Linked DNA regions of Homo sapiens: regions 2 and 3 are each linked to region 1. The links are contacts of gene promoters, found by promoter capture Hi-C in blood cells and fetal thymus (Javierre and others, 2016). All regions are on one chromosome and are shown on one strand. The core of a region is centred on a gene start or on the middle of the fragment in contact, and the rest is flanking DNA. Distances in the headings are between cores, read along the strand shown.

Region 1 (2,529 bases), core at 22-2,521:
TTTGACGTAGGTACTGATTTGTTGCATGTGCTCACAAGTGTTCTATGCTCACCCCCACTTTAGAATGGGAGTATCACAGTGTCATTCTTAATTGGCTTTTAGGTATTACCACCTTGCTCTTGACTGGAAATGCAACTGTGGTTACCACCTGTGCTGCAGGTCCGTCCTGGTTCCCTGATTTGTGTTTCCTGTTCTGCCTGGATCCTGATTCTCAGAAACCAGTTACTGGACTTCTGATCCACATCCTGACCCTGGTCCACTGTGACCCTCAGACTCTTAATTATGCTCCACCAGGTCGTGCCACTGCCCCACTAGTCCATTTGATCTGCCCCCATCCTAGGATATCCTGAGTCTAAGCCCTGGTTTCTGCCAATGGCAAATAGGAAGATTTTATTAACAGGTTTTAAAAAATTATTATTATTACTGGTTATTTGGTTTGACAAGGCACTTAGGCTCCCTGAGCTTTGCCTTAGCTGGAAAATAAGGATAGTATTACTTGCTATTCTATCAACCCTGTAAGATATTTGCGGCCACGCGCGGTAGCGCACCCTGTAATTCCAACACTTTGGGAGGCCGGCGGGAGGGGCAGTGGGGAGGATCGCTTGAACCCAGGAGCAGGAGTTCCAGCCTGAGCAACATAGCGGGACCCCCTGTCTCTTCAAAATTTGTTTTTAAATTAGCAGGGCGTGGTGGCGCAGGCTTTGTAGTCCCAGATACTCTGGAGGCTGAGGCCCAGGAGGACGAGGCTGCAGGGAGCCATGATCACGCCACTGCACTCCACCCTGGGCGACAGAGCGAGACCTTGTCTCAGAAAAAATCTGTGAGGTTAAAAGGCTGTGTGTGTGAAAATATCTTGGAAATTGTAAAGAACTACACAAATATAAGGTTTTCCTGTGATTATTACCGTCATCAAGATTAACCTACAGATAGTGCAAAATTTAAGCTTCCCAAAAAATGTTCGCTAACCTTTTTCATACTTTTAGACCATTACAAGATATAAATAGCAAAGTCAACTGGAATTGTAATTAGAGCTTTGATTTTTCTTGGGCTAGAGGTTTTTTCTGCCATTCTGATGAACCCTGGAGGAAGGGAGCAAGGTCGGCGGGATTTGGCCGAGGGGCGGGGTGAGGACTGCGCAGGCTCAGCTTCTCAGCTGGAAGAGGAAGTCCCGAGTGCAGGCGTCTGCGGCCCCCATGGTGACCAGACCGACTTCCGCCCGACCCGCCCACCTCTACCGGCCCCTAATCCCGCGAGGCGCACCATGGCAACCAGACTTCTGCGTCGCGGAAGCGGGTCCCGCAGGTCGCCACGGTTGGGGGAAACGCGGCGGACGCCGCCCCCGTCCCGAAGGGGACTCGAAAATGTACAGCCAGCGGTTTGGCACCGTACAGCGGGAGGTTAAGGGCCCCACCCCCAAAGTGGTGATCGTGGTAAGCACAGGATATGTCTGCCAGACCCTACAGCTTTCTCCATCTCTCCGCACTCCAGGCCTGGCCTATCCCACTTCGGCCCCCACCCGGGGCCTTCTCGAGGGGAACGGGTGTCGCCTGATGCAGTGGGTTGAATTTTGAAAGAAGGAAGATAAGGTCGCTCACCTATCTACCCCACCTCTCACCCACTCATCTCCCTCTGTTTTCATCCTTACAGCCTTTCATCTGCCCCCAAAGTTATAATATTTAGGTTCTGTTTTTGGAGAATCACCACTAGGGATCTTAGGGTTTTTCAGTCTCCAAGACACCGGAAGGATGTCTGTCCCCCATGCAGTGGCGAGTGTGTGTTATGGAAAGGGCACCCGGCCCAGAGACAGATCTGGGGGCAGGGCGGGCCTATGATTTGGAGCTGGTCTTTCACTCCTAGGAAAATCGTCTGAGGAAGGGGAATTAGGTTGTGAGTGGTTATAGCACCCAACGCCTTTCCTGTGCCAACTCAACCAGTAACCATTGCTGGACAGAAGTGTCCCTTCAGACCTGGGAAAAACTCAGGTGCCTGCCTCTAAGGCTGGAGTGGTAGTAGGCCAGGAAAATGTGCTTGCTGCAGAATTTGATGGTTCCTGCTGAGAACCTCAGACACTATTGGTCCATACATGTAGATTTTTTTGTTTCTACAAATTAGTTTCTACCCACCAGAAAACTAACATGTAGGCAGAGTTATTGCTTGAGCCCCTGCTGTGTGCGCAGTATTGTGGGAGATACAGGGGTGGATACAATGATCCTGGAAGGTTAACTCTTTATTGAAGCCTGAGCCCTCCCTTCAAGGAGCTTATACAAGTCAAGTATCCCTTATCTGAAATGCTTGGGACCAGAGATGTCTAGGATTTCAGATTTTTTTTTTGGATTTTGGAATACTTGCATATACATAATGCAATATCTTGGGGAGGGGACCCAAGTCTAAACACAGAATTTATTTATATTTCATTACCTCGAAGGTAATTTTATTTTCCCCTTGGGGATGCTGAATAAATATGTGTTGTTTGCTTGTGTTTTGACTGTGACCCCTTACATGAGGTCAGGTGTGAAATTTTCCACTTAT
Region 2 (2,529 bases), core at 14-2,513, 1.6 Mb after region 1:
TGACACTGGAATAAAATATTAGTGAACTTGAAGAAATAGCAATAAAAGCTATCCAAAATGAAACACAGAGAGTAAAGAAAGACTTTAAAAAATCAGGCAGAGCTTTGGTGAGCCATGGGAAAAGATGAAGAAGCATAGAATACATACAATTGGAACCCCAGGGTTGAGGGAAAGTAGGAGGAATCGTGGCTGAAAATTTTCCAAATTTGATGAAACTATAAACCTACAGATCCAAGAAACTCAATAAATCCCAAGTGGGAGAAACATGAAGAAAACCACCACACCAAGGCACATCATAATCAAATAGATGAGGTCTTAACTGTATGCTCTATTGTCTCTCATTGATAGGCCCAAGGCATGAACAGAGAAGAAACAAAATGGCAAAGGCACCAGGAAGAGATGAATGGATATAGATAAAATAGCAGGAGAAGAATCAGGAGAGAAGGGAAGGGTGGCACAGTGGAGTGTGGTGGTAGGTCATGGTCACTGGCAGCGGCAGACTCAGTCACTGTGGAAGGTCCACTGCTTTTACACCCCTGCAGCAGGCCCAGTCACACTCCTGAGAGCAGCTAGACTCCTGCTGTTTCCACCAAAAGTCCAGCACTATAAGTATCTAGAGACCTGGATTCACTGAGTGAATCCTCTTTGTCCTGGAACCTGGCCTGATTCCAGGAAAGAGGCCCAATCAATAAAAAAAAGAGCAAGCATAGCAGACACCTGGAGGCCAGCAGGGCAAGTCCACTGTTCAAAAGCCTAAAGACAGCCCCAGCCACATTAGAATCTCTTCCAGGCCTGCCAGTCCCACCTGAACACACCACAGGACACTTCACCTGCAGAGAGGTTTCAGGCCAAGGGACAAAAACTTCCAAGTTCACTGAGTTGCCAGGGCATGGTCTATTTCATCTCTAGGGCACATCAGGCCTGCCAGCAGGGCCTGCAGCATCACCGAGTAGGCTGTCACACACACGATCACAATGGGACACCCTGGAGAATGGCAGGTAGCCAGCCCTGCCTATTACTACCATACAGGCGGTTACACTCCTTGCTGGAACAAGCAGCCAGAAGGAGTGCTTTGGTTAGGTCCTGTCCAGGAAGAGGATCAGGACTCCAGGGGTGGGGGTGGGCTGTTAGAGAGCCTGCCCCTGCACCTACCTGCCAGGCTGGAAGGACCTTCTCGATGTCATTCAGGTTGATGCCATCCCCATCTTCCAGCTTCCCTTTGCCACACCTGGACCAGAAAAGACAGAAAGGCATTGGAAAGATGGCTCATTCATGCCTCCTGTCCCATCCGGCCAGCAGGAGAGGAGGGACAGTCAGCAGATACCTGGTGCTGCCCACCCTCAAGCCCTGCAGGGGCTGTCCCACCTAGAGGAAACAGCCCTAGAGAAGCTGTGTGTGTGTGGGGGGGGGGTCCTCCCGTAATGCAACAGCCAACCTGGAGGGAGGTGGGAGAGGAACCAGAGTTCCCCTTGCTCCTTCCAGGCAGAGAAGCTAAGCTCCTTACTCATCACAACTCCTGTCAAAGCCCATCCACCTTGCCCCATTACACTGAACAGAAGATCAGTGGACAGAGACACCAAGCAACTTTCTCAAGGTCACATAGGCTGGCAGGGGCTAGCAGAAAACCCAATAGGGCTTCCTTCCTTTTTGGCTTGACTCTGGGTCAGTCCAGCAAGCCCACTCAGATAGTCTATGCTTTGTCTTCATGTCCTCTGTGAGTGGGCGTGCCCTCGGGCCAGAGAGGCTGGCCCCAACTCCCTGGCCAGAGGTCTGAATCTTTGGCATATTTAAGGGTGCAGATTCCGAAACCAGACTCCCAGGGTTTGAATCCCCGCTGCATCCCTTACCAACTGGGGACCCTGTACAAGTTGTTTAACCTCTCTGTACTCATTTCATCAAATGAGTTTCCTCATTTGTTAAATGAGGATAATAGTGTCTAACATCTTAAGGTGGCTGGAGGATTAAATTAATGAATGTATCTGGAGTGCTTAGATGCTTAGAACTGTGACAGCCCACAGTAAACGGTACATATATACACACATATATAGTCTAGCTTATATATATATATATATATATATATATATATATATATATATATATATAAATGTTTAGCTTGTTTGTTTATAAATGTGTGTGTGTATATTTCTTGTGTATGTATTATTATCTGTATTTACCATTAAATATATCTTAAACATACACACATATGTTTAATGGTAAATACTGGTAATAATAACAAAATTAAAATAAATAATGAAGTAAATATATTGCTACTACTATGACTACTTTCATTACCACTAATATTGTTGCTGTTGTTTAGGCAAAGAGGCAGGAGGGTGATTAATTAAGGACACAGATTCTGGAGCCAACCCAGCCTCATGCAAATTACTCAATTTCTGGGTCTCCTAGTTGCTTCATCTATTGAAGAGAAGATGGTAACAGTTCCTCCCTCTCTGGGTGGTGGCGAGTTTTAAATAAATGAGGCAAACACTTAGAACAGAGGCTGGAGCATGGCCGGTGCATAGTAAGTAT
Region 3 (2,529 bases), core at 17-2,516, 1.5 Mb after region 1:
CCTTTCCCAGATAGGAAGGGAGGGACAGTACACCCTGTCATTCACTAAAGGTTAGGACCCAGGACAGGTAAATGTTAATTGGAGATGAAGGAGAAAAACATCTGTAATCTGGGGTGTTCTGGGAAGCCAGGCCTGGGCAGGGGAGAAGGGTCTACAGGCGAAGCTCCCCACTTCCCACTCCTGCCCCATGGGCTCTCTGAGTCTGGTGGCTTGGTAGCCAGTGGAGTGGGGGTGGGTGGTGGCAGCTGCCCCGGGCCACAGGCGTGGGCATTCCTCTTCTAAGCTCCACACTCACACTCAGCCCTGTTTATAAGGCACAGGAGCCAAGGAGTCTGTGTGGCCCCGCCAACTCAGCCCGGAGGCCCAGAGGAGGGAACCCAAGCCGAGGTTGGACTGAACCACATCTCATGCCAGCCCCAGGACCTGTCCGCCTGCAGCTTCCCAGAGCCTCGGGCACCTGACCTGTGGCCCTGTGGGTGCACTGAGGGCCTGGGATCTGGGCCAAGGAGGGGAAAGCGAATGCTGAGAAGGCCTTGTGGGTGGGTGGCATTCATGTCCCCTGGGCGCTGCACGCTTTAAATAGCTCAGCTTCTCTCCCGCTCACAGTCTTGTCACCCCTGCCAGCTCCTGCCTGAGTTTCCACATCAGAGAGGGCTGATTTCCAGGTCAGGATGGGGAGCGGGTGGGGGGACAGGGGGACCTGGCTTCCTTGGGTGGCAGAGGCTCAGGAGAGGAAAACAGAGTGCTGCCCCCATCCCTCTGCAATCAGTGGGACTTTATGCTCCAGGCCAGGCAGGGGCCCTGGAGCTTGATGGGCAAGGGGCTTCATATGGCTTCCCCTGTCTCCCTGGAGAAGTCCATGCCCAACCCAGGCCACCTTCTACTTGAATCTGCAAGCCCATGACCAAACACCCCCACCCAGAGAGCTCTTGGACTTCACCCTCCACGCCTGCCCTGGGTCCTGGTTCTGGCAGGGCTCACTTGGCTGGGCCCGTGACCCACCCCTGCCTCCATGGAAACTTCTGGGTCCCTAAGTCTTGATCCTACCCACCCCACCCTCCTGCCCACCACTCAGCACCTAGTTCATCTAAGGCAGGTCTTTAATCAGCAGCCCCAGCCCCTGCTTCAAAGCAGTTTGAATCAGTACAACTCTTTAACATTTACGTGGCACTTTACAGTTTACAAACTATTTTCACGTCCTTATTTCATGCGTGCTATGCAGAGCAGTTATAAATAATCCCCATTTTACAGCCAATGAGACAGAGACAGCCAGAAATATTAGGGGAAGTATCCAAGTTCATATGTCAAATTAGTGGTACAATCCAGACCGAAACCCAGGCCTTTTACCGCACTAAGAATGCTTCCTCTCCTGCCCCCATGCCCCCTCCCTTTTCTACTGTTTGACAAGGGGGAGAGGAGGGGAGACTAACACAAGACAAGGGGAGGAGAGGGGAGGGCCACGTGTCTTCTCTCCCAGGCCCTGAACCCTGCTGCTGGCTCCATAGGTCACTTTCACAACCCAGAACAAAAATCTCGCTAGATATGGCCTCAGACCGCCCGGCTCCAGCCACCCTCGCCGGCAGACGCATGCAGATACACAGAGAACGGGCTGTTATCTCTCCTCTCCAGCCCGTTTCCTCCACTTCTCAAACAGCAGATTTCTTCCAGCCTGGCTGCCTCCCCTGGTCACCACCCACAGCCACTGGCCCCTGGGGCCCGGCCAAATCCCCCGCACCCTCTTTGCCCTAGACTGTGACGCCGAGTCTCTGCTAATCAGACAGTCGCCTCTGCCCTCCCAGCCGCCGCCCCCAGAGTTCCCTGGAAATGTCCCTTCTGCAGGCCCGGCCCCCGCTGCGGCGCACGGCTTTGTCTGCACACACAGCTGACTTGTGTTTGCAGGGACAGACAGGGGCTGGCGCTGGGGCCGGAGCCAGGAGGCACTAGGAGGGTAGAGCAGATGGGGAAAAACACAAAGTCCAGAGGACAAACTTTTGCAAGCAAACCCTTTGGGGTCATTTGGGAGCCTGACAACAAGAAGAGGGGGGCTCACAAAGCCAGAAGCTCCGTGAAGGCAGGGATGGGGGGGTCTTCGCCTTCTGTGACTCCCCCAGCAAACATATTGGCTTGCTAGTCTTTTGCGATCTGAGTACAGGAAAAATCATGCCAGCTAGGAGGGGATGGGATGACAGAGGAGTCCAGGGAGAGAGGGAGGGACAGATGGGCCTCCTGAGGCTATCAGCACGCCCCCCTCCTTAAGCCCTACCCCTGCACTCTGCCCTGCTAGGTACACAGAAGGAGATCCATAAATGCTGGTCATGCTGAAATGGCCTCTGGCCATCTTGCCCCTGTGGGGCCCTTATTCCACTGGCTCCCCAGCACGCTGCCTCTTGTGTGCGGACCGGCAGGAGGGAAGCCTGGGAGAGTGGCTGAGACAGCCCAGCACACCATGCATGCATCTTGATGCATGCTACATGAAAGGATCCCCCTTTATCAGGCAGAGAACCCAGTGTCCACAGTGCCCCGCCAAGC

What was found. The method cuts DNA at HindIII sites, captures the fragments that hold promoters and counts their contacts. A CHiCAGO score of 5 or more calls a contact.
Region 2: a fragment that was not itself captured here is called in contact with the fragment with the promoter of CFAP53 in region 1 in 3 of 17 cell types (neutrophils, naive B cells and total B cells); the score reaches 8.8 in neutrophils.
Region 3: a fragment that was not itself captured here is called in contact with the fragment with the promoter of CFAP53 in region 1 in 1 of 17 cell types (naive B cells); the score reaches 5.4 in naive B cells.

The regions. Positions count from the first base shown.
Region 1 is chr18:50,265,237-50,267,765 of GRCh38, reverse strand. CFAP53 (cilia and flagella associated protein 53) reads left to right here and starts at 1,271. Exons shown (of 8, transcript NM_145020.5): 1 at 1,271-1,430. The coding sequence starts at 1,362. It also overlaps a transcript of MBD1 not described here. RefSeq lists enhancers at 1,306-1,375, 1,546-1,675, 1,022-1,867. The HindIII fragment of the contact is 1,610 bases long and covers 946-2,529 here.
Region 2 is chr18:48,669,368-48,671,896 of GRCh38, reverse strand. CTIF (cap binding complex dependent translation initiation factor) reads right to left here. Exons shown (of 12, transcript NM_014772.3): 6 at 1,153-1,228. MIR4743 (microRNA 4743) reads right to left here and starts at 1,297; the gene lies at 1,229-1,297. The HindIII fragment of the contact is 6,169 bases long and covers 1-2,529 here.
Region 3 is chr18:48,780,585-48,783,113 of GRCh38, reverse strand. The region is part of intron 9 of CTIF (cap binding complex dependent translation initiation factor); the gene reads right to left. Among named protein-coding and RNA genes, the nearest start is that of CTIF-AS1, 60 kb to the left of the region's middle. RefSeq lists enhancers at 677-1,308, 1,939-2,529 and a silencer at 1,936-2,118. The HindIII fragment of the contact is 3,104 bases long and covers 1-2,529 here.